7 separate regions of the Homo sapiens genome follow, and all the other regions are linked to region 1. The links are contacts of gene promoters, found by promoter capture Hi-C in blood cells and fetal thymus (Javierre and others, 2016). All regions are on one chromosome and are shown on one strand. Each heading gives the region's core, a stretch centred on a gene start or on the middle of the fragment in contact. The rest is flanking DNA. Distances are from core to core; before and after follow the strand shown. Region 1 holds the start of DIS3L2 (DIS3 like 3'-5' exoribonuclease 2). Region 2 holds the start of ALPI (alkaline phosphatase, intestinal). Region 3 has its middle 22 kb from the start of ALPI. Region 4 holds the start of ALPG (alkaline phosphatase, germ cell). Region 5 has its middle 7.0 kb from the start of ALPP. Region 6 has its middle 36 kb from the start of ALPP. Region 7 overlaps DIS3L2 (DIS3 like 3'-5' exoribonuclease 2).

What was found. The method cuts DNA at HindIII sites, captures the fragments that hold promoters and counts their contacts. A CHiCAGO score of 5 or more calls a contact.
Region 2: a contact is called between the fragment with the promoter of ALPI here and the fragment with the promoter of DIS3L2 in region 1, in 2 of 17 cell types (naive B cells and M2 macrophages). The highest score is 8.9, in naive B cells.
Region 3: a fragment that was not itself captured here is called in contact with the fragment with the promoter of DIS3L2 in region 1 in 1 of 17 cell types (naive CD8 T cells); the score reaches 6.6 in naive CD8 T cells.
Region 4: a contact is called between the fragment with the promoter of ALPG here and the fragment with the promoter of DIS3L2 in region 1, in 6 of 17 cell types (neutrophils, fetal thymus, monocytes and 3 more). The highest score is 7.0, in neutrophils.
Region 5: a contact is called between a fragment that was not itself captured here and the fragment with the promoter of DIS3L2 in region 1, in 1 of 17 cell types (neutrophils). The highest score is 5.4, in neutrophils.
Region 6: a contact is called between a fragment that was not itself captured here and the fragment with the promoter of DIS3L2 in region 1, in 1 of 17 cell types (neutrophils). The highest score is 5.4, in neutrophils.
Region 7: a fragment that was not itself captured here is called in contact with the fragment with the promoter of DIS3L2 in region 1 in 1 of 17 cell types (fetal thymus); the score reaches 5.2 in fetal thymus.

The regions. Positions count from the first base shown.
Region 1 is chr2:231,960,179-231,963,082 of GRCh38, reverse strand. DIS3L2 (DIS3 like 3'-5' exoribonuclease 2) reads right to left here and starts at 1,370. Exons shown (of 21, transcript NM_152383.5): 1 at 1,318-1,370. RefSeq lists a silencer at 1,113-1,272 and an enhancer at 1,403-1,492. The HindIII fragment of the contact is 14,565 bases long and covers 1-2,904 here.
Region 2 is chr2:232,454,624-232,457,527 of GRCh38, reverse strand. It overlaps ALPI (alkaline phosphatase, intestinal), which reads right to left and starts at 1,375. Exons shown (of 11, transcript NM_001631.5): 1 at 1,262-1,375; 2 at 1,063-1,179; 3 at 833-948; 4 at 455-629; 5 at 206-378. The coding sequence starts at 1,328. The HindIII fragment of the contact is 3,629 bases long and covers 1-1,505 here.
Region 3 is chr2:232,432,745-232,435,648 of GRCh38, reverse strand. No RefSeq gene overlaps it. Among named protein-coding and RNA genes, the nearest start is that of ALPI, 22 kb to the left of the region's middle. RefSeq lists an enhancer at 2,655-2,904. The HindIII fragment of the contact is 6,734 bases long and covers 1-2,904 here.
Region 4 is chr2:232,405,489-232,408,392 of GRCh38, reverse strand. ALPG (alkaline phosphatase, germ cell) reads right to left here and starts at 1,549. Exons shown (of 11, transcript NM_031313.3): 1 at 1,432-1,549; 2 at 1,220-1,336; 3 at 992-1,107; 4 at 625-799; 5 at 376-548; 6 at 1-126. The coding sequence starts at 1,498. RefSeq lists an enhancer at 286-1,485. The HindIII fragment of the contact is 10,567 bases long and covers 1-2,904 here.
Region 5 is chr2:232,384,257-232,387,160 of GRCh38, reverse strand. It overlaps the pseudogene ECEL1P2. Among named protein-coding and RNA genes, the nearest start is that of ALPP, 7.0 kb to the right of the region's middle. The HindIII fragment of the contact is 814 bases long and covers 1,022-1,835 here.
Region 6 is chr2:232,340,847-232,343,750 of GRCh38, reverse strand. It overlaps a transcript of DIS3L2 not described here and the pseudogene NRBF2P6. Among named protein-coding and RNA genes, the nearest start is that of ALPP, 36 kb to the left of the region's middle. RefSeq lists an enhancer at 401-910. The HindIII fragment of the contact is 5,996 bases long and covers 1-2,904 here.
Region 7 is chr2:232,255,634-232,258,537 of GRCh38, reverse strand. All of the region lies in intron 12 of DIS3L2 (DIS3 like 3'-5' exoribonuclease 2), which reads right to left. Among named protein-coding and RNA genes, the nearest start is that of MIR562, 84 kb to the right of the region's middle. The HindIII fragment of the contact is 3,979 bases long and covers 1-2,904 here.

The DNA of each region.
Region 1 (2,904 bases), core at 121-2,620:
GGAAAACAGACCATTATACCAAAAAGACATATGCAGTTGTATGTTCACGGCTGAGCTATTCACAATAGCAAACACACGGAATCAACCTAGGTGACCATCAATGGTGGACTGGAAAAAAAAAATGTGGATGTACAGGATGGAATACTATGCAGCCACAAAAAAGGAAGATATCATGTCCTTTACAGCAGCACAGATGGAGCTGGAGGCCATAATCCTAAACGAATTAGCACAAGAACAGAAAACTAAACACCACACGTTCTCACTTATAAGTGGGAGCTAAACATTGAGCACACTTACAAGTGGGAGTAGAAACATTGAGCGCACATGGACATAAACATGGGAACAGTCGGCCGGGTGCGGTGGCTCACGCCTGTAATCCTAGCACTTTGGGAGGCCAAGGCGGGCGGATCACGAGGTCAAGAGATCGAGACCATCCTGACTAACATGGTGAAACCCCGTCTCTACTAAAAATACAAAAAAATTAGCCGGGCGGGGTGGCGGGCGCCTGTAGTCCCAGCTACTCGGGAGGCTGAGGCAGAAGAATGGCATGAACCCAGGAGGCGGAGCTTGCAGTGAGCCGAATCGCGCCACTGCACTCCAGCCTGGGCGACAGAATGAGACTCCGTCTCAAAAAAAAAAAAAAAAGGTAACGGTAGACACTGTAGACTACTGGAAGGAGGGGAGAGATGGGGGATGTGGGTTGAAAAACTACCTACTGGGTTCTATGCTCAATACCTGGGTGCAATATACCCATGTGACTAACCTGCATGCGTATCCCCCATATCTAAAAGTTTATTAAAAAAAAAAACTCTCTATGATCAATAAAGGAGATAAAGTGTATCACTGTGGAAAGCGCAAACGTCAAGGACATGTTATAATTAAGCGGCTGCCCTTCAAGATTCCCGAGGCTCCCCATCCCTGCCAGTCCTGAACATCTCGATCAAGACCCTAGAGAACGCGTCCACAGGTGACCCGAGCCTCGGGAGGCGTCCTCTCTACAGCAACAGGCTCTAATTCTGGTCTCGCTCCCCTCACGCCATCCTAGGCTACAAGGGCCCCGGCGCTATAAGCGCGGCCTGGGAGGCCGGGTCGGTCAGGAGCGGAGAGTGGGGAGCTGGGGACATTGAGGGAGATGCGGGACAGGGAAGACGCGTGGGCCGGGGAGCAACGCCAGAGGCGGAAGACGCTCGTCCCGGGCCGCCACCACAGGTGCCGGGCGAAGCGCCGCGGAGCCCCCCAGAGGCCAGACCCCGGGTCGGTCCCGAGGGGGTCGTGCAGCACTAGGCGGTGCAGGGGGCAGGCGAGTGAGGGCCTCACCGTTTCTCCCCGGAGGCCGGCGCCGCCGCAGTCCCGCAGTTGCTAAGGAGAATGCTCTTCCGGGTCACGGGCGCGGCGTTCTAGAGAGCGACGGTGGCCGGGCGAGGCCGAGAGCGAAGCGCGCGGGGTGTGTGCGCGGTGCAGGAGCTCGTAGTCGGCGGTTCAGCTGCGACAAGGGCGAAATGGCCAGGCCAGGGGCCGCCGCGCCTTCTCCGGCCTCGCTCGCGGGGACAACTGGCTGCAACGGTTGGCTCCCAGTGGGCGGCCTCTGAGACGCCTTGTGCCAGGCGCCGGCTGGCTCCGGGCCCCTCTTCCACCGGAAGGAGCCTTCCAGACCCGGCTCCTGAACCTCCAGGCTCTGCTCCACTGGGCCAGGTCTTGCACGGCAGACGCCGCCGGCCCCTTTCCTGTTACAAGGCTTTGCTCATTCTTTCATTTACTCACTGCTCATTTATTGGACAACTGCTTGGGGCGAGGTGCAGTGCTGGCACTGGGGATACAGAGATGGACAACCCCCGCATGGTCCCTGCCCTCAGGATGTGAGGCTGATGGCAGAGCAAGCAGATGACGTCCTGCACGTGGGGATGATCGAAGGAAAGGAGACTAGGGGAGCCTGCCCAAGGGGCCCACCCAGACACGGGTGGGGAGCAGCTGATGTTGGAGACGTCGACCTAGTATAAAGGGTTGGGAAGAGGGTTTCAGGTGAGAGAGGAAGCGCAGCCGAGAAAGCCCCCGACAGTTCAGCCCGCCCAGGGAAGCGTGTTGAGAGGAAACAATCGTTAAGTACGGGACCTAGGAAACACCAATATTGTAGATGTGAGCAAAGGAAAAGGAAATCCAAAGAGCAGCCAGAACGTTCGGGAGAGCACAAGAGGAAAGAATGCCAGTGAGGGGATGGCCGCCATTCTCAAGCTATGGAGATCAAGTGTCCATTGGTGACCATAGAAAAATCAAACTTCCCTTTGGGAGGCCGAGGCGGGCGGATCACCTGAGGTCGGGAGTTCGAGACCAGCCTGATCAACATGGAGAAACCCCGTCCCTATTAAAAATAATAAATTAGCCAGACGTGGTGGCACATGCCTGTAATCCCAGCTACTCAGGAGGCTGAGGCTGGTGAATCGCTTTAACCCCGGAGGCGGAGGTTGCAGTGAGCCGAGATCGCACCATTGCACTCCAGAAAAAAAAAAAGAGAGAGGGAAGGAAAGACGGGAGGGCAGGGCAGGGTAGGGATCAAACTTCGGGAATACAATGTGGACAGATGCTTGAACCACCGTATGCTCCATATTGAAAAAGGAAAAGAGATGCATTAAATTGTGCCTATATTTCTCTTTTTTTTTTTTTTTTTTTTTTTGAGACGGACTATCGCTCTGTCGCCCAGGCTGGAGTGCAATGGTGCGATCTCGGCTCACTGCAACCTCCGCCTCCTGGGTTCAAGCAGTTCTCCTGCCTCAGTCCCGAGTAGCTGGGACTACAGGCGCGTGCCACCACTCTCGGCTAATTTTTGTATTTTTAGTAGAGACGGGGTTTCACCGTGTTAGCCAGGATGGTCTCACTCTTCCGCCCATCTTGTCCCAAAGTGCTGGGATT
Region 2 (2,904 bases), core at 126-2,625, 490 kb before region 1:
GGCTGGCCCCGTGCCCCCTCCTCATGCATAGCCCCTGGCTCCCCTCCCCAGGGCTGTGGGAATGGCCCAGCCTGTATTGCACATTCTACATCCCCAACTCCACCTCCAGAACCTGCTGACCCAGATCAGGCTTTTGGTTGCCTGGATCTGAGCCTGTGCCACCTTCCCCTCTGCCCAGCCCCAGCCCTTGGCCCGGGGGTCGCACGTCAATGTCCATGTTGGAGATGAGCTGAGTGGCGATGTCCTGGCACCCCTCCTGGCGGGCTGAGGCAGGCATGTCAGCATCTGAGTACCAGTTGCGGTTCACTGTGTGTGCGTAGGTGCCGGCTGGCGAGGCGTGCTGCACCCGTGTGGTGGTCACCACTCCTACTGACTTTCCTGAGGGTGACAGAGGTCAGGATCGGTGACCGAGATCTTGGGCCTGGTCCTGACCCCACAGCGGGCCCCAGCTCACCTGCTTGCTTGGCCCGGTTCATCACGGAGATGACCTCATTGCCGCGTGTCGTGTTGCACTGGTTAAAGCGGGCGGCTGCACTCAAGCCGATGGTCTGGAAGTTGGCCTTGACCCCGCACAGGTAGGCCGTGGCTGTGGCTGCGCTGTCTGGCACCTGTCTGTCCACATTGTATGTCTGCGAACGGAGACACCCTGAGCTCTACTTCGGGGCGGACACCCAGACCCCAACCAAGGACCTGGTTCTGGTCCTCTGGGATCCTAACTGCTCCCAGCTCCTAACTTAGGCCCCAGCTGTCCTGGCTCCCTCCCTCCTGCCACACTCCATATCCTTGATCCCTCTCCTCTGCTTGGAGGACTCTGAGGTGGCCCAGCCCTTACCTTGGACAGAGCCAGGTATGGGAAGCGGTCCATGGCCAGGGGCGTCTCAGGCCCCAGTTTGCCATTCTTCTGCCCCTTTAGGATCCTGGTGGCTGTCACCGTGGGCACCCCCAACCCTGAAGGAGCAGAAATGTGTGAGTCCTGGGCCCCAGGGTTGTCCTGGAACCACTGAAGGTCCCGGGTGCCGGGGCTGTGAGGACTACGGGGCTGGACAGGCCTTGCTCACTCACCATCGCCCAGGAAGAGGATGAGGTTCTTGGCGACCTTCTGGATGGGCTGCAGCTTCTTGGCAGCATCCAGGGCCTCAGCTGCCTGGCGGTTCCAGAAGGCCGGGTTCTCCTCCTCAGCTGGCCAGGGGGAGAGTAGAGATCAGGTCAGCCTGGCTGAGGGGGTGCCCTGTGTGTGGAACAGCTTGGGGAGCCTCATTACCTGGGATGACGCCCAGGGAGAGCTGTAGCCTCAGGCCCAGCAGCAGCAGCACCCAGGGCCCCTGCATGTCTTGGGGGCAGCAGGAGGGAGGCGAAGTGGGGACACCAGGAACCGGCTGCAGCGCAGGCTGCCTGGGTTTAAATCAGGGGAGGACTTTGCCCCTGGCTGTAAATGCTCCACGTCCCTCCCCACACCCCTGGTGTCCATCTTGACCCCGCCCAGTCCTGTGACCTGAAGCCAAGCTTGCTGAAGGGAAGGGACTGGGTGTGGCTCACAGTGTCTTGTGGGAGACGCGTTGCCACTCCTTCATTCACCTCATTCAAGGTGTGAAGAGAGGTGAGACTGGAAACACACAGCCTAGGCCAGGGCCCGGGTTAGGGCTCGTAATGTCACGAGCCCCAGAGGAGTGTGAAAGGAGGCACACTGGGTGGCCTGGCTGCCCTAGAACCCACTTGGTGTATATGGGTGCCCACACCTATGTCCTGAGGACGCAGGCTGGGAAGGGGCCAGTGCTCTGGGTCAGCCAGACCTGGGCTGGGTCTTCCAGAGCAGCCTGTGCACTTGAGGTTGACCCCTGTTCCCTTGCACAGGTAGATGGAGCCTGGGGTGAGTCTGTTTTCCATGGGCCCCGGGGAACACCCAGAAGTGTAGCCTCTGATAAGGAGTTCAGAGAGTTTGGTAACCTCAGGCTGAGTTCAAAAGTATTGCTTCAGTCCAGACATCCCACTCTGAGTGTGTAGCCAAAGGAATGCGAACTAGGGACTCGAACAGATAACTGCACACCCATGTTCCCAGCAGCATTATCCACAGCAGCCAAGAGCTGGAAGCTACCCAAGTGTCCAGCAAAAGAGAAATGGAGAAACCAAACAGGGTGCACACATACAATGGAGTATCACGCAGCCTTGAAAACAAAGGCGACCCTGACACCTGCTACAACATGGATGAACCTTAGGACATTATGCTCAGTGAAATATACCAGTGCAAAAGAACAAATACGCACGAACACACTTCTCTGAGGTCCCGAGGGGAGTCAAATACATAGAGACAGAAGTGGAATGGAGGTTGCCTGAGGCTGAGGGAGGAGGCAATGGGTTAGGGTTGGGGTTAGGGTTAGAGTTGGAGTTTAATAGGGACAGAGCTTCAAGGTTGCAGGATGAGAATGTTCTGGAGATCAGCTGCACAACACTGTGCGTGTACTCAACACTGCCGCCCTGTACACTTGAAAATGGTGAAGGAGGTAAACTTGATGTACCGTGTTTTGTAGCACAATTCAAAAACTGGTTCAAGAAGAAAAGGCTCCTCCAGCTCCACCCACCCCAGCCCAACCACAGCAGCCCCTTCTCCACTCGAGCCTGTTTACCTCAAACCCCAGGCTTGGCCCTCAGAACCCAGGGGACCTCACCTGCTGCCCAGCCTCTGCCTGCCCTGCCCCACTCCCCACCACGCCTAGGGCCTCCCTCAGGCCGAGCTTTCCCGGGTCCTCCTGCCTGCGCCCTCCTGGCTTCCCGGTGGTCGTCCTGGGGCTCTCAGGGAAGATGTCGCTCTCATAGGTCCTTCTTGCCCCCTGCTTGTTGCCCCCTTAGTTTCCTCTACCTCCTGCTTCATCTTGCTGAGTTAGGAACATTCTTGGCTGAAAGTCAGAG
Region 3 (2,904 bases), core at 147-2,646, 470 kb before region 1:
GAACCTGGAAGCCAGAGCTTGCAGTGAGCCAGGATTGTGCCACTGCAGTCCAGCCTGGGTGGCAGAGTGATACTTCATTTCAAAAAAGAAAAGAAAGAGCAAGGCTGGAGACTGGGGGCCACAAGGGCGCCCTCTTCCCAACTGGGCACAGCGGGGCAGGAGCTGATAAGCTCCCAGGCAGAGGCAGTAGGAAGTGGCCGAGAAGCAGCTCTGGGACTTCAGAGGAGCCTGCGGGTTGTCCCCAGTGTGAGAGCTGCCAAGAAGAGCAGGGGCTTGCACAGGGCCCTTGGATTTGGCCAGAAGGAGTAAGTCACAGTGGCAGTGCGGCTGGAGAGGCTGGTTCAGAAACCCAAGAGGACGGAGGGAGGGAGACTGGCAGGTGTGGACAGTTCCCCACCAGGTTGCTGCTGATGGGGCCGGAGTTGGCCTGGGGGAGATGCGGGGTGTCTGTCTGCTTCCTGCTTGCTGTCTGAAGCATCCCAAAGGCCGGAATGTATCTGCAGAGGAGCTCACAGAGGGAAAGACCCCAGGAGAGCAGCCAGCTTATGGGACAGCCCGCAGGGCCCAGGGCAGGAGGAAGGAGCTCAGGGTGGAAGCCTGAGGTCCTGTCCTGGGGAGGGCAACTGGCCAGCTCCCAGGACGGAGCACCGCTGTGGTGTTGGGGGAGATGAGGAGGCCTGTCTGGGTGGGTCCTGAGGCCAGCCCCTGCTCAGTGTCCACAGCTCTGTCCTGACCATGGTCCCTGCAGAAAGGGTGGGTGCAGTCAGATGCCGCTTCCTTACAGCATCCTGGAGGCACTGAGGAGTGTCGCCCAAGCCATGTGACAGTGGCCAAGAGATGAAGGACCTTGCCCAGATCAGACAGTCAGTCAGGGGCACAGAGGGCTGGACCCCACCTCCCTGGGCCCCTTGACCAGCGCCCTGCGGGCCCAGGTCAGACACTTGCCCTGACAGCCCTAGCATGGAGGAAACAGGCTGGAGGCCAGACAGGTGACCCTGGAGCTCAGGTCAGAGGACTGCACCCCTGGATCTATCTTTTCCAGTCTACTGGGCACAGCAGAGAGGAGAAAGCAGAGAGCATGGCCACCCCACAAAGTGGGGTTCAGGTTCCATCAGCTCAGCTCTGGCCTGGCCACACCCCAGCTGCCTCCTGTCCCCTCCCTGAGGACTCCATGGCTCCAGAGGAGTCGAGGGAGACTGGGCCGGCAGTGGGTCTCTCCTCAGGCCCAGGCACGTTGCTAAGGCAGGGCCCAATCTCCTGACCTAGACTGCTCGGGCCTGGCCCTCAGACTCTCGGCTCCTCTGCACTTGGCCTCTCAACCCTGCCTGGCAAGGAGGACGTGTCTCCAAGGCTGTCCTGTTTCAGATCCACGCACCTGCTGAAGTGCTGAGAAACTCACCTCACCCCTTCCCCACACAGGACACTCAGAGAGTGGCTTTGGAAATGAGCGGGAGCCGGGGCAGAGGAGCAGGACCAGTGCCCAAAGCTGAAAATGTGTCCATTTTCAAAGGCCAAAGGCAAATGTGGGACAGAAACAGCCTCTTCTGCCCTCAGCCACCAGGGCCCTTGTCACGCTCTGTGGGAGGCTCCTGCTAATGGAATGAGGCCACTCACAGAGCTTGTTCAATTAGCTCTTGCTGAAAACTGCTAACGTGGCTTTGATAAGAATTGCTCCCAGCCAATTTCAGCCTCATTTCTTCTGCAGACCAAATTTTCCACACTTGAGCACATGCTCCCTGTAAGCTCCAGAGCCCTGGGCTCTGCCGAGGCCATGAAGGCAGCTGCTGGGCCTGTCTCAGAAGCTGTGTACCCAACCATGGCCCGTTCTCCATGGCCGGGCAGCCCATGGGGTGCAGGTGACGGCCACCTTTACGTAGAACCTGCTGTGTTCTTAGCAGCTGGAAATTGAGTGTAGTGTGGTGGGAACCGCAGGGCCCCGGGAGGCAGGGGTCTACGGAGCACTGAATTGCAGGCTGCTGGGGAGGGAAAGTGGAAGAGATCTTGGTGGCAGCTCTGTTCCAGGCCAGGCCGGGTGGGGCTGGGTGCCTGGGAGCTGGAAAGTGGAGGCCTGGAGAAAGGGAGCCGCAGGCAGAGCACCTTGCCTGGGTCGGGGAGGGGGATGGGGAGAAAGTGCAGCTGCTTGACTGATGGACCCCCACCCACAGCTGGCCATGCACCCTGCTGCCAGTCTCCAGCAGAGGGTGCCGTGGCCTCTGGGTGGCCCACCAGTCACAGCTCGTGCCTCTCGCTGACCCCTCTCCTCCTGGGCACACTGCAACCTCCTGAATGCACTGGACGTTTCCATGAAACCACAGGGAAATGAATGGGGCCCAGTTCACAGGCATGGAAAAGCCCAGAGGAGAAGGCCTCTGGAGCCAAACATCACATGCTGCAGGGGAGGCCAGAGCCAGGTTTCCTAGGCTGGGAGGCTCAGTCCACAGCAGGGCCTTGTCACTACCATCATCCTGCTCCTGACTGCCGAGGGCGCCTCCTCCCCTCTGCCAGGATCACAGCAGCTGCAGAGCCCAGGGTCACCCATCTGAACCTGGCTCTCCACCTGCCCGGCCACCCCCCAGGGACAGAGCCTTTCCCCTGGTCTGCTCCCTGCCCCTAGGCCCTGAGGCTGGTCACAGGCACAGGCGCACACGCATGGGCCCCTGCAGCCACCGCCTGGCTGGGCTGGGACACTGTTGCCACCTTAGAAGCCTTGCTTCCAGGCCCCCACTTTGCCTCTGCCTCTGTCCCGCTGCAGTTGGATGAGGGCAGAAGCAGCACTCAGGCCTGCGGCACGGCCTCCCTGATAAGGCTGCCCCCTCCTGGTTGCCTCGGGCTCAGGCCCTTTCCTGTCTGAGTCGCCCAGGGCTGAGCAGGGTTGCTTTTCCTGCTCTTGGTTTCCCGTCACTG
Region 4 (2,904 bases), core at 300-2,799, 450 kb before region 1:
CGCCAGCCATTCCTGCACCAGATTCTTCCCGTCCAGCCTGGTCCCACCTTGGCTGTAGTCATCTGGGTACTCAGGGTCTGGGGTCCCCATGGGAAACATGTACTTTCGGCCTCCACCTAGGATCACCTGGGAACAGAGGATGGGGCAGGTGGATTTGGGGGCCTGGCTGGCCCCGTGTCCCCTCCTCATGCACAGCCCCTGACTCCCCTCCCCAAGGCTGTGGGAATGGCCCAGCCTGGGCTGCGCCTTCTACGCCCCCAACCCCACCTCCAGACCCTGCTGGCCCAGATAAGGCTTTTGGTTGCCTGGGTCTGAGCTGGTGCCCCCTCCCTGCTACTCTCTGCCCAGCCCCAGCCCTTGGCCCGGGGGTCGCACATCAATGTCCATGTTGGAGATGAGCTGCGTGGCGATGTCCTGGCACCCCTCCTGGCGGGCCGAGGCAGGCACGTCGGCATCCGAGTACCAGTTGCGGTTCACCGTGTGGGCGTAGGCGCCGGCTGGCGAGGCATGCTGCACCCGTGTGGTGGTTACCACTCCCACTGACTTTCCTGAGGGTGATAGAGGTCAGGATATGCGATAGAGGTCTGTCACCTGGCCCTGACCCCACAGCGGGCCCCAGCTCACCTGCTTTCTTGGCCCGATTCATCACGGAGATGACCTCGTTGCCGCGTGTCGTGTTGCACTGGTTAAAGCGGGCGGCTGCACTCAAGCCAATGGTCTGGAAGTTGCCCTTGACCCCGCACAGGTAGGCCGTGGCTGTGGCTCCACTGTCTGGCACATGCTTGTCTACACTGTATGTCTGGGGACAGAGACACTCTGAGCTCTTCTCTGGGGCAGACAAACAAGACCCTGATCTCTGTCCTCTGGGATTCCAACTGCCTCCAGCTCCTTATTGGAGCCCCAGCTGTTTAGGGTCCCTCCCTCCTACCACACTCCATAGCCAGGATTCCCCTTCTCTGCTTGGAGGACTCTAAGGTAGCCCAGCACTTACCTTGGACAGAGCCACGTACGGGAAGCGGTCCATGGCCAGGAAGGTCTCAGGCCCCAGTTTGTCCTTCTTCTGCCCTTTTAGGATCCTGGCAGCTGTCACCGTAGACACCCCCATCCCTGAAGGAGCAGAAGTGTGTGAGGCTTGCTCCCCAGGGCTGTCCTGGAACCACTGAGGGTCCGGGCGCCGGGGCTGTGAGGGCTGCGGGGCTGGAAGGCCTGGCTCACTCACCGTCACCCAGGAAGATGATGAGGTTCTTGGCGGCTGTCTGTGCAGGCTGCAGCTTCTTGGCGGCACCCAGGGCCTCGGCTGCCTGGCGGTTCCAGAAGTCCGGGTTCTCCTCCTCAACTGGCCAGGGGGAGAGCAAAGATCAGGTCAGCCTGGGCTGGGGGGTGCCCTGTGTGTGTGTGTGTGTGTAGGGGCAGCTGGGGGAGCCTCATTACCTGGGATGATGCCCAGGGAGAGCTGTAGCCTCAGGCCCAGCAGGAGCAGCACCCAGGGCCCCTGCATGTCTGGAAGCAGTCGGAGAGCGGCGAGGCGGAAATCCCAGGTATGGAGTATGAGCTGCACTCCAGGCTGCCTGGGTTTAAATCAGGGAAAACTGTGTCCTGGCCCCTCCCCTTGTTACCACCTTGACCCCGCCCAGCCTCTTGACCTGAAGCCACACTGGCTGAAGGGAGTGGCAGGGTGTGGCTGGGCTGGGCTGGGGCTGGGGTCCTGAGAAAGGCAGCTTAGGGTGGGACCAGGTGTCCCCCAGGGAAGGGTGGGATTTTGGGTATAGTGCAGTGTGCATCCTGCCGCCAGGGGCCCCTCCCCCAACCCCTGCTCACTGTGTCTTGTGTGGAACTAGACACCCTGTCACTCGTTCATCCACCATTTTTTTTTTCTGTATTTCCTGGGAGCTGGGGGCCAGGCTCTGTTCTGGTGTCGAGAGGAGGGGAGGCTGGAAGCACACAGCCCGGGCCAGATACTGGGTTCAGCTTTCTGATGCCAGGAGCCTGGGCCCGGTGGGAAAGGGGCACATGGGGGGCTTTGCCGCTCTGGCACCCCCTTGCTCCAACATCTGGCCTTGGCCTGGACAGGTGGGGCTGGCAGGAATCTAGGCCCAGAGCTCCAGGGCTGTGGGCATCTGTGGGGCCAATGGTGACAACACTGAGTGGGGCCGGGCCAGTCCTGCCCATTGCTTACATGTTGTGTTTGATTGTGTATGTGTTTGTGTGGGTGCACTCGCACTAATGTTTGGACGACGCAGTGGGGGAGAGTCCAGTGCCCTCGGCCAGACAGGCCTGGGCTGGGTCTTCCAGAGCAGCTTGTGCACTTGATTGTGACACCTGTTCCCTTGCACAGGCAGAGGGTGCCTGGGCGGACTCTGTTTTCGGTGGGCCCTGAGCATGCCCAGAACTGTAGCCTTTCACATGGGGATCAGATGTTTTGATAGCCTCAGGCTGAGTTAAAAAGTATTTCTGCAGTTCAGATACCTTGCCATCATTTTTTTCTTTCTGTTTTATTATTATTATTTATTTATTTTTTTGAGACAGGGGCTGGCTCTGTCACCCAAGTTGGAGTGCAGTGGTGCATTCACGCCACACCTCCTAGGCTCAAGCGATCCTCCCACATCAGCCTCCCGTGTATCTTCCATTATGTGAAGCTAATTTTCAAAAATTTGTGTAGAGTCAGGATCTCTTTCTGTTACCCGTGCTGGTCTTGCACTCCTGGGCTCAGGCGATCCTTCAACACTGCTAGGGTTCCAGACTTGAGCCACCAATCTGGGCCCACATTCAGGAGAAATGGATTTGGAGAGGAACCAGAGTGCTCAAGGGTGTGTGACATGTGCCACAATCGTGGGCAAAACAGACCTCTGCCCTTGTGGAGGGCACAATCTAGTGGAAGAGGAATGTTTTTAGAGATGTACAAAG
Region 5 (2,904 bases), core at 179-2,678, 420 kb before region 1:
TCGCTTCTTGGCCGCCAACCTGGACGCCAGCATCGACCCATGCCAGGACTTATACTCGTTCGCCTGCGGCGGCTGGCTGCGGCGCCATGCCATCCCCGACGACAAGCTCACCTACGGCACCATCGCGGCCATCGGCTAGCAGAACGAGGAGCGCCTGCGGCGCCTGCTGGCTCGGCCCAAGGGTGGACCCGGCGGCGCTGCCCAGCACTAGGTGCGCTCCTTCTTCCGCTTGTGCCTCGAGATGCGCGAGATCGAACGACTGAACCCGCTGCTCATGCTGGAGGTCATCGAGGACTGCGGGGGCTGGGACCTGCGCGGCGCGGCGGAGCGCCGGGGGGTTGCTGCGCGATGGGACCTCAACTGGCTGCTGTAAAAAAGTGCAGGGCGTGTACAGCGCCGCCGCGCTCTTCTCGCTTATGGTCAGCCTGGACGACAGGAACTCTTTGCGCTACGTCGTCCGTGTGAGTGCGCGCGTTGAGCGCCCCGCCAGCTGCCGTAGACCCGGGGCGCAGTGGCCTTGCCCAGGGGTCCCTGAGGGCGGGAGGAGGGTGCGCGAGAGGAGAGGAAGGGAAAGCAGGGGAGGGGAGGGAGCGCACAGTGGCAGCGCGCGGGAGGAGGTCATAAGTAATTTCCCCGGGGTAACTGCGGTGTTCAGCGGTGCAGCCATTTCCCAGCCCTCTGGCAGGCAGTGGGGAGCGGGTGGGGTGCGCGGCAATATATTCAAGCTTATGTACAAAGCATTTGAGGTCTAGTTGAAGAAACAACTTGAAGAATGGTCTCGCAGCAATTACAAACAAATACCCTTCAGCAATTACAAGAAGGCTTTCAATGACTGAACCCGAATACTTGGTTGTCTGGGTTAAACATACGCATTTGGGTGATGGCCGCTATATTCTTTTTTGTATCTGATTGCTAGGGTGATGGCCGCTATATTCTTTTTTGTATCTGATTGCTAGGCTTCTGTAAATGGCTCTGTGCTGCCACCCGAAGCATCTATGACCAGGGAAGAAGGATAGAAGCTTATTTTGCGTTGGATAACCAGCAAGCTCTAAGAATTAAAGAAGGGGGAGATGTGGGGGGTGCACGACGATATATTCAAACTTATGTACAAGGCATTTGAGCTCGAGGCATGGAAAAATACTGAGGCACTGTGTGTACGTTGTTTGTGCGTGAGAATGTAACTCCTTGACACTGAAAACAGGACAAGGAGTGGAATGTGTGATAAGGAGCGCTGAAAACAGCCTCCTAGGAATGTGGTCTGAGTGCTTTTACAAGGCCGTATGTGCCTCATGACCCCACGGCAAAAACCCATCTGGTGGATGTTTGTGGTTTAACAAGCCTTCTAATAAATACTTGGCGGATGGATTTTGGGGCGGCACTCTCTCAGAGGAGTTGCCGCCTGCCCCACTCAGCTGGAATTGTCTGAGTACTTCATTCTCTGGCGTTCACAGCAGCTACAAGCTGCAAGGGGTGACCCCAACGTGACCACCTTGAAATTACGCGTGGAGCAGGTCGACTCATCAACTTTGGGTACTAAAAATACCAAAACTTAGCTGGGCGTGGTGGCGGGTGCCTGTAATCGCAGCTACTCAGGAGGCTGAGGCAGGAGAATTGCTTGAACCCGGGAGGCAGATGTTGCAGTGAGCCGAGATCGCGCCATTGCACTCCAGCCTGGGCAATAAGAGCGAAACTCTGTCTCAAACAAAACAAAACTCTTGCTAAGGAAAGAGCAAATTTTTGAGCAGAAGTTTGAAAATATTTATTTGACACTTGATTTTGGGGTAAACAATGTATTAGACTCATAAACACTCATACCTACACAGGAAAAGGAAGCTTGAGAACAGAATGACCTAATTTCAGAATAATCTTTTTCCTCTTCTTCTTCTTCTTTTTCTTCTTCTTCTTCTTCCTCTTCTTCCTCTTCCTCTTCCTCCTCTTCTTCTTCTTCCTCTTCTTCCTCCTCCTCTTCCTCTTCCTCCTCCTCTTCTTCTTTTCCTCCTCCTCCTCCTCCTCCTCCTCCTCCTCCTCCTCCTCCTCCTCCTCCTTCTTCTTCTTCTTCTTCTTCTTCTTCTTCTTCTTCTTCCTTCTTCTTCTTCCTTCTTCTTCTTCTTCTTGGGATGGAGTTTCACTCTCGTCACCCAGGCTGGAGTGCAATGGTGCGATCTCGGCTCACTGCAACCTCTGCCTCCCGGATTCAAGCGATTCTCTTGTCTCAGCCTCCTGAGTAGCTAGGATTACGAGTGCCTGCCACCACACCTGGCTAATTTTTGTATTTTTAGTAGAGACAGGATTTCACCATGATGGCCAGGCTGGTCTCAAACTTCTGACCTCAAGTGATCTGCCTGTCTCGGCCTCCCAAAAGGCTGGGATTACAAGCATGAGCCACAACTCCTGGCCAGAATAATCTGTTTTTAAAATGTCTTCACTTTTAAAATATAGAAGTCCTTGGGTGTGAGCACTCATGTAAAACCTAAACATGCAGCACCTCCACATTGGTTAGAAAGAGGAACTTTCTAACCCACTGACAACTGGGAAGATAGAAATACACTAGCTGGATTTTACCAAAACCTTTGCATATTTGGTGGATGGAATGTAACAATGAGTATGATGATTTAGTAAGGCCAGCTAATGGTGTCTACCTTCTGTTCACCTCCCATATTTTTATGACAGCCACTAAAACCTAGAATTAGAAAAGAAAAAAAACTGTCCTGAGAGAGCCAGGTCCTCAAATACATGTATATATTTTTCCAGACAGGGTCTTGCTCTGTTGCCCAGGCTAGAGTGCAGTGGAGCAATCTTCTTTCACTGCAGCCTCGACCTCCCTGGACTCAGTTGTTGTTTTTGCAGAGACGGGATCTCACTATGTTGCCCAGGCTATTCTCAAACTCCTGAACTCAAGCGATC
Region 6 (2,904 bases), core at 227-2,726, 380 kb before region 1:
GCAGTTTCTGAATGCAGAGGCGAGCTCCGTAACTCTGACTTTTCCACAAAATCAGCACCCACATCCAGCTCCTTTTCTACTGGACCTTTTAGAAGTCTGGCCTTTTCAGCCTTTACCTGTTTACTTTCTTTCCATAATCTTTCCTTCTCCGCCACAAGGAATTCCACATGCTTCTTCAAATCTGCAACTGGGTTGTCTGCTCCTCTACTCTTATCGTGTTTTGGGGCTTTGCTTCCAATACACGGCTCTGTTGCTGAAGGAAAAACAGTCGTGTGTCTGGATCCCTGTCACATATGCCCCGAGTCTCAGGCAGGCGTTCCTCTGTGGAGGGCTGTGCTTCTGCATCTTCAGCAGAGGGGCTGTGAGAGGCCTGAAGATGGGCAGCCCCATCCTTGTCTGCGTTCTGCTGGGCCCTTTTCCGTGTCTCCTGGATGAGGAGGCGCGGTTTCATGTGGCTAGGCCTTTGCAATTCCAGTGAAAGGTGAGCCTACTCAGCCTGCGTCAGCTCCATAGCTTCAGAAAGATACAGCATGGCCTTTTTGTGACAGGAAATAGCCTCTTCATATTTGCCTGCAGCTAGTCAACAGTCTGCTTTGATGATGAGCCAGGTTGAGGGGGCCTTCAGTTACTTCCAGAAGACCCCAGGGTAGGCGGCAGTGCCGGGGAACATGGAGGGGACAGCAGAGCAGTGTGATGCAGCTGTGGACACAGCAGCCCCTCTCAAATCTTTAACCTGCCTCAGCCCTCCCAGCCCCCCCACTCTGACTCCTATCAGCCCTTGAAATCTGTGATTTCGACCCATGAACACCTCTTTGATCTGTGCCCAGCAAGGGCTGGGGCACACTCTTCTGCAGAAAAGACCCATCGACCGTGCAGCCCTTCCCCAGGTGGCACAGCTGCTCCTGGCTCACGGAGCTGCCCAGGGACTGGCCCCTCACCCTGGGCTCCCAGGGGCCCCAGCCCAGCCTGGGCTCACACATGAGCCTAGAGGTTCTATGGAGGCAATGAGGATTTGTCACTGCCATGACTGCTACTTGAGGCTTTAAGTAGAAGACCATACGCAGCCTTCTAAACGAGTGGGAACCTGAGGTTGCGTGTCAGTAGGAATTTTATCTGTTGCTAGAATAGTGGACTCTTTCATACACCCTATGCTGAATGTACAAGAAGCCTTGGAATCCAATTGTGGATCATTCCTGTGCTATTAGCATGAATACATTTTTTTCAACTTCAGTTTTTACTTTTGTCCAAGTTATATGTGAATGTAGTTTAAAGTATCAAACAGATCTACAAGGTTTGTTAAAACAAACAGCAGTTCCGTCTCCCTCCTTGCATTTTCCCATCTCTGAGGCAACCACTTTCCTCTCTCTTGGTGTTTTACTATTTACCACTGTTGCTAAATAAGATACTTCTTCATGTCTGAATTTGAAGCTATGTGTATATATGTATATATGTGTATATATGCATATATGTGTATATATGTATATGTGTATGTGTGTATGTGTATATATGTGTATGTGTATATATGTATGTGTATATATGTGTATATATGTATGTGTATATATGTATACGTGTATATATGTGTATGTGTATATGTATATGTGTATATATGTATATGTGTATATATATATGCTACACACACACACACACACACACAGCCTACTGATGTTCTATTATCTATCGTTGTGTGACAAACTACCCCCAACAACCTTAAAAAACAATCATCTATCGTCTATATTTTGATCACAAAACTGCCATCTGGGCAGGGCTGATGGGACTGCCTGTGTGTACTGAGGCCTCAGCGGGCCTGGCTTGCAGGTTGGGGGTCTGCGTGGCTGCCCAACTGGTGCTGGCTGTGGGCTGAGAGTGGGCCCCTCCATAAGGGCTTCTCCAGAGCTGCTTGGGCTTCCTTACAGAAGGGCAGGTAGGTTTCCAGAGACAGAGAGGGGAAGCTGCCAGTCTCTTAAGGCCTGGGCCTGCAACTGGCACAGTGTCCCTTCTGCCATATTAGCTTAGCAGCCCTGGGGCCTGTCAAGATTGAAGAGGCGGAAAGAGAGTTTACAGTCATCTTCAAGCCACAGCTTCCCACTGAGGAAAATGAGCATTTAGCTTCCATTTCACCAACTGCATTCCCTGCATGTGGACAGCGTCCCCATCTTCCAGTCCTCCTGATAGAGTTCTGCAGTAAACTAGATCCTGACTCGGCATTTCTATGGTGATGACTGTGTAAACGCTATTGCCAGATCGTAAACTGTGACTAGCTACCTCTTCTTGCTTGCACTGCTGTTTTCTCTGGAGCCAATCATGGTCTTATCTTCACATGTGGATCATTCTGTATGTACTACTAATCCAACCCGAGGCTCTATGCGAAGTACTTCAATGTCCTCCAGGCTCTTCTGGGGAATTCAGCTTTCTATCCATGTCACTCTACTGCTGCCCTGGGTGGGACGTCCCGGGGCGGGTTGCCAGGCACCACCTGGGGCTGAGCTGCTCCCTCACCACTGTCCCGAGCGCTTGCCCCACCGCAGCTTGAAGGACCCTGGGTCCTGTCACTACGGTTTCCTCTTTGTGGCTTCTGCCCTCATTACTGCCCATCTTTCCTGAGAAGGCGAGGGACATGTATCTGTTGAGAGCTCACCTGTCTGCAGTGTTTTTACTCTAGTGGCGCTGAAATGTGTCTCCACGGTGGCAATCATTGTGCCTCCAAGGGCCCTTGTTTTGCTCTCTAGGAACTTTTTGGAGCAACCTCCTCTCGTTTCACGATGGCTTTCTCACCTCCAGGAAGGCATTCATCATTTCTTTTTCTACAGCTTTCTTTTTCCTCTATGGTCTGTGTTCCCCACGGAGCTTGTTTTTTGTTTCATGAAGTTTTCCTCCACGAAGGGCAATCCCTGGCTGTGCACGGAT
Region 7 (2,904 bases), core at 197-2,696, 300 kb before region 1:
ATCTGGGCTCACTGCAACCTCCGCCTCCCGGGTCCAAGTGATTCTCCTGCCTTAGCCTCCTGAGTAGCTGGGACTACAGGCACATGCCACCATGCCCGGCTCATTTTCTGTATTTTTAGTAGAGACGGGGTTTCACCATGTTGGCCAGGATGGTCTCTAACTCCAGACCTCGTGATCCGCCCGCTTTGGCCTCCCAAAGTGCTGGGATTACAGGCATGAGCCACCACACCTGGCCCCTCTTTTCTTTCTTAATCACAGGATTTGGGTCACTCTTCTGTAGGCAGGTGAGTTTACTGCACATACTCTGGAATACCACTGTTCAGAATGTCAAATTAAATACAGTGCCAACACTGACTGAAGGCGTATTACTGGGAAAAAACTACTGAAAAAGGAGTACATAATTATGTACTACAGCACTGTAATTCAAGGCCTACCTACTGTACTAAGTAAGACCGGAAGTAGTCTAACACTCGGAGTATTCTTAAACCTACTACTTCTAAAATCTCCTTAACACATCTGGGAGGAGTGCATTGTTCAGCCCATTTTACAGTTGAGAAAACAGGCCAGGAACTTGTCAAAAGTCATACAAACTCCTAAGTGGCGGCCAAGACCAGATCCAGTTAAAGACAGACCCAAAATCTAGTGTTACTTTTATTCCATTTCAGGTGAAGGTCATAAATTAGACAGAGGCAGATGATGAAGTAAAATAAACCAAGTATGTCTCAAACACACATCAACTTTCTATATTGATACAGAAGTATGACCACTTCCTTTGAAAATTATTCAGTTCCATTCAAATGTATCTTTAAATTTATCCTCTGAAAAATGTCAGCACTTCATTAAGATGTATCTCTGGCTGAAAAAACTGCAAGTGGGGTTAACTTATAATCTTAAATAATTAGGTACAAAATCACTTTTGCAGGAGCTCCGGGCTTCCGTATGCAAAATATTTTGTTCAAAAAAATATGAGGAAGAAAGAAACCTTTTCCTGACTGGAACAAAACCAGGCTGTTTGGAGTGACGGAGGGTGGGAGGGAGGTGGAGTGGATTTTGGCTGCTTCTTAGAGCTACGAAAACAGGGCAATCATCCTTAGTAGGGGCAGCCCGGCAGTGAGAAAAGTCAAAGGTGCCAAGAAGCAAGTGTCTGAAAAGGACTAGGCAGAGAGAGGACGGGCTGGAAGAGAGCAGAGAGAGGCAGGTCATGCCTGTGGTGGAAAGGACGCAAACTTGCTAGGGAAGGTCCTAGTAACTGCAGAGGACAGAGGCAGTGGGGTGGCTAGAGCAAACAAGAGGCTACTCCACAAGCCCCAGTCCTCACACTAGGGCCATCATCACTAAGCAAAGCTCAGGCTTCCCCTGAAAAAGGGAGAGACGAACACAGTAAGATTAAGGCATGAATATCTAGACTGAAGCACCATTGCACACAATCCACTTATACACCCAGCAGAATGCTCGCTTTCTCTTCACAGGTGGCTCACTGCAACTTCTGCCTCCTGGGTTCAAGCAATTCTCCTGCCTCAGCCTCCCAAGTAGCTGGGACTACAGGTGCCCACCACCATGCCTGGCTAATTTTTGTATTTTTAGTAGAGACAGGGTTTCACCATGTTGGCCAAGCTGGTCTTGAACTCCTGACCTCAGGTGATCTGCCCACCTCAGCCTCCCAAAGTGCTGAGATTAAAGGTATGAGCCACCATGCCCAGCCAAATATTTATTTATTTATTCATTCATTTATATTTTAGAAACAGGGTCTCGATCTGTTCTCAATCTGATCAAGTGATCCTCCTGCCTCAGCCTCCTAAGTAGCGGCAAGGCAGAGAGAAATTTTGATGTGGAAAGGGGGACCTCAGCAGTTGAAGTTGGCTAGCCTCTCTCGTTTCCAAGAAGGAGGAATGAAAGGTACTTGGGAGAATGATGGGTCTTAAAGGAAAGAGGAGTGGAAAGCAAGGTTGAGGTTGGAACCGAAGAAAAAAGGCTTGGAACCTAGTGACGAATAAAAGGATTCCCAAGTAGCACTGAAGGTTCAGCTGAGAAAGCCCCAACTGGTACACAACATAGTTCTACAATGTCCAATTCTCAGAATGGAATGAGTTAAGCAGGGAGGAAAAGATCTGCTCAGCTACAAGGAAGGGGCAGAGGCTTGAAGGATATGAGAAGATGGCAGGTGGGGAAACTCAACCTTGACTGATGTCAGGTCCCTGGAGCTGGGGAGGGGGCCTGCAGCACAGCAGAGAGCTCAGTTACACATAAAAGGCAGCTTCTCTCCTGTGAGCAGCAATGCTCCAGGACATGAGAGGAGATGCTGGTTGCAGGAAGACTCTGGAGTCTATGCATTTCCAGCACAGAAGACAGGCAGAAAAGAACAAGGAAAAAGTTACCATTGTAAGGGGGCGTTTTATCTTTTATTGTGAATGAGAGATTGGAAAGTTTTAATGGAGAGACAAGGCTTAAGATTCAGAAGGATCACTCTGACAGCTGTATGCAGAGGAGATGACGTGGGGCAAGAGCAGAGGCTGCAAGGACAGTCAGGAGGCCACTGTATCTGTCAAGGTGAGAGAGAATAGCTTGGACGCAGGTATTAGTGCCGGTAGTTAAGGAAGGGGGCTGATTCTGGAGGCATTCAGAAAGCAAAGCAGCGATGACACACTGGCAGACTGGATGCAGATGTAGCATGAGAGAAAGACCAAAGTCAAGAATGACCCCGTGGTTTTTGACCTAAGTAAATGGCTGAAATAGGCGACTTCCATAGTACACTCCAGGTCCTGACTAATCCTGTACAGCACACAGCAGGGATGTCACAGGAGACGCAAACTGAGGATAGCTAATCAATTGTGAGACCCTTCTTTTATTATTCTGATCTTTGGCCCTAAGATTCTAAGGTTCTAAGGTCTAAGGACTTAGTTACTA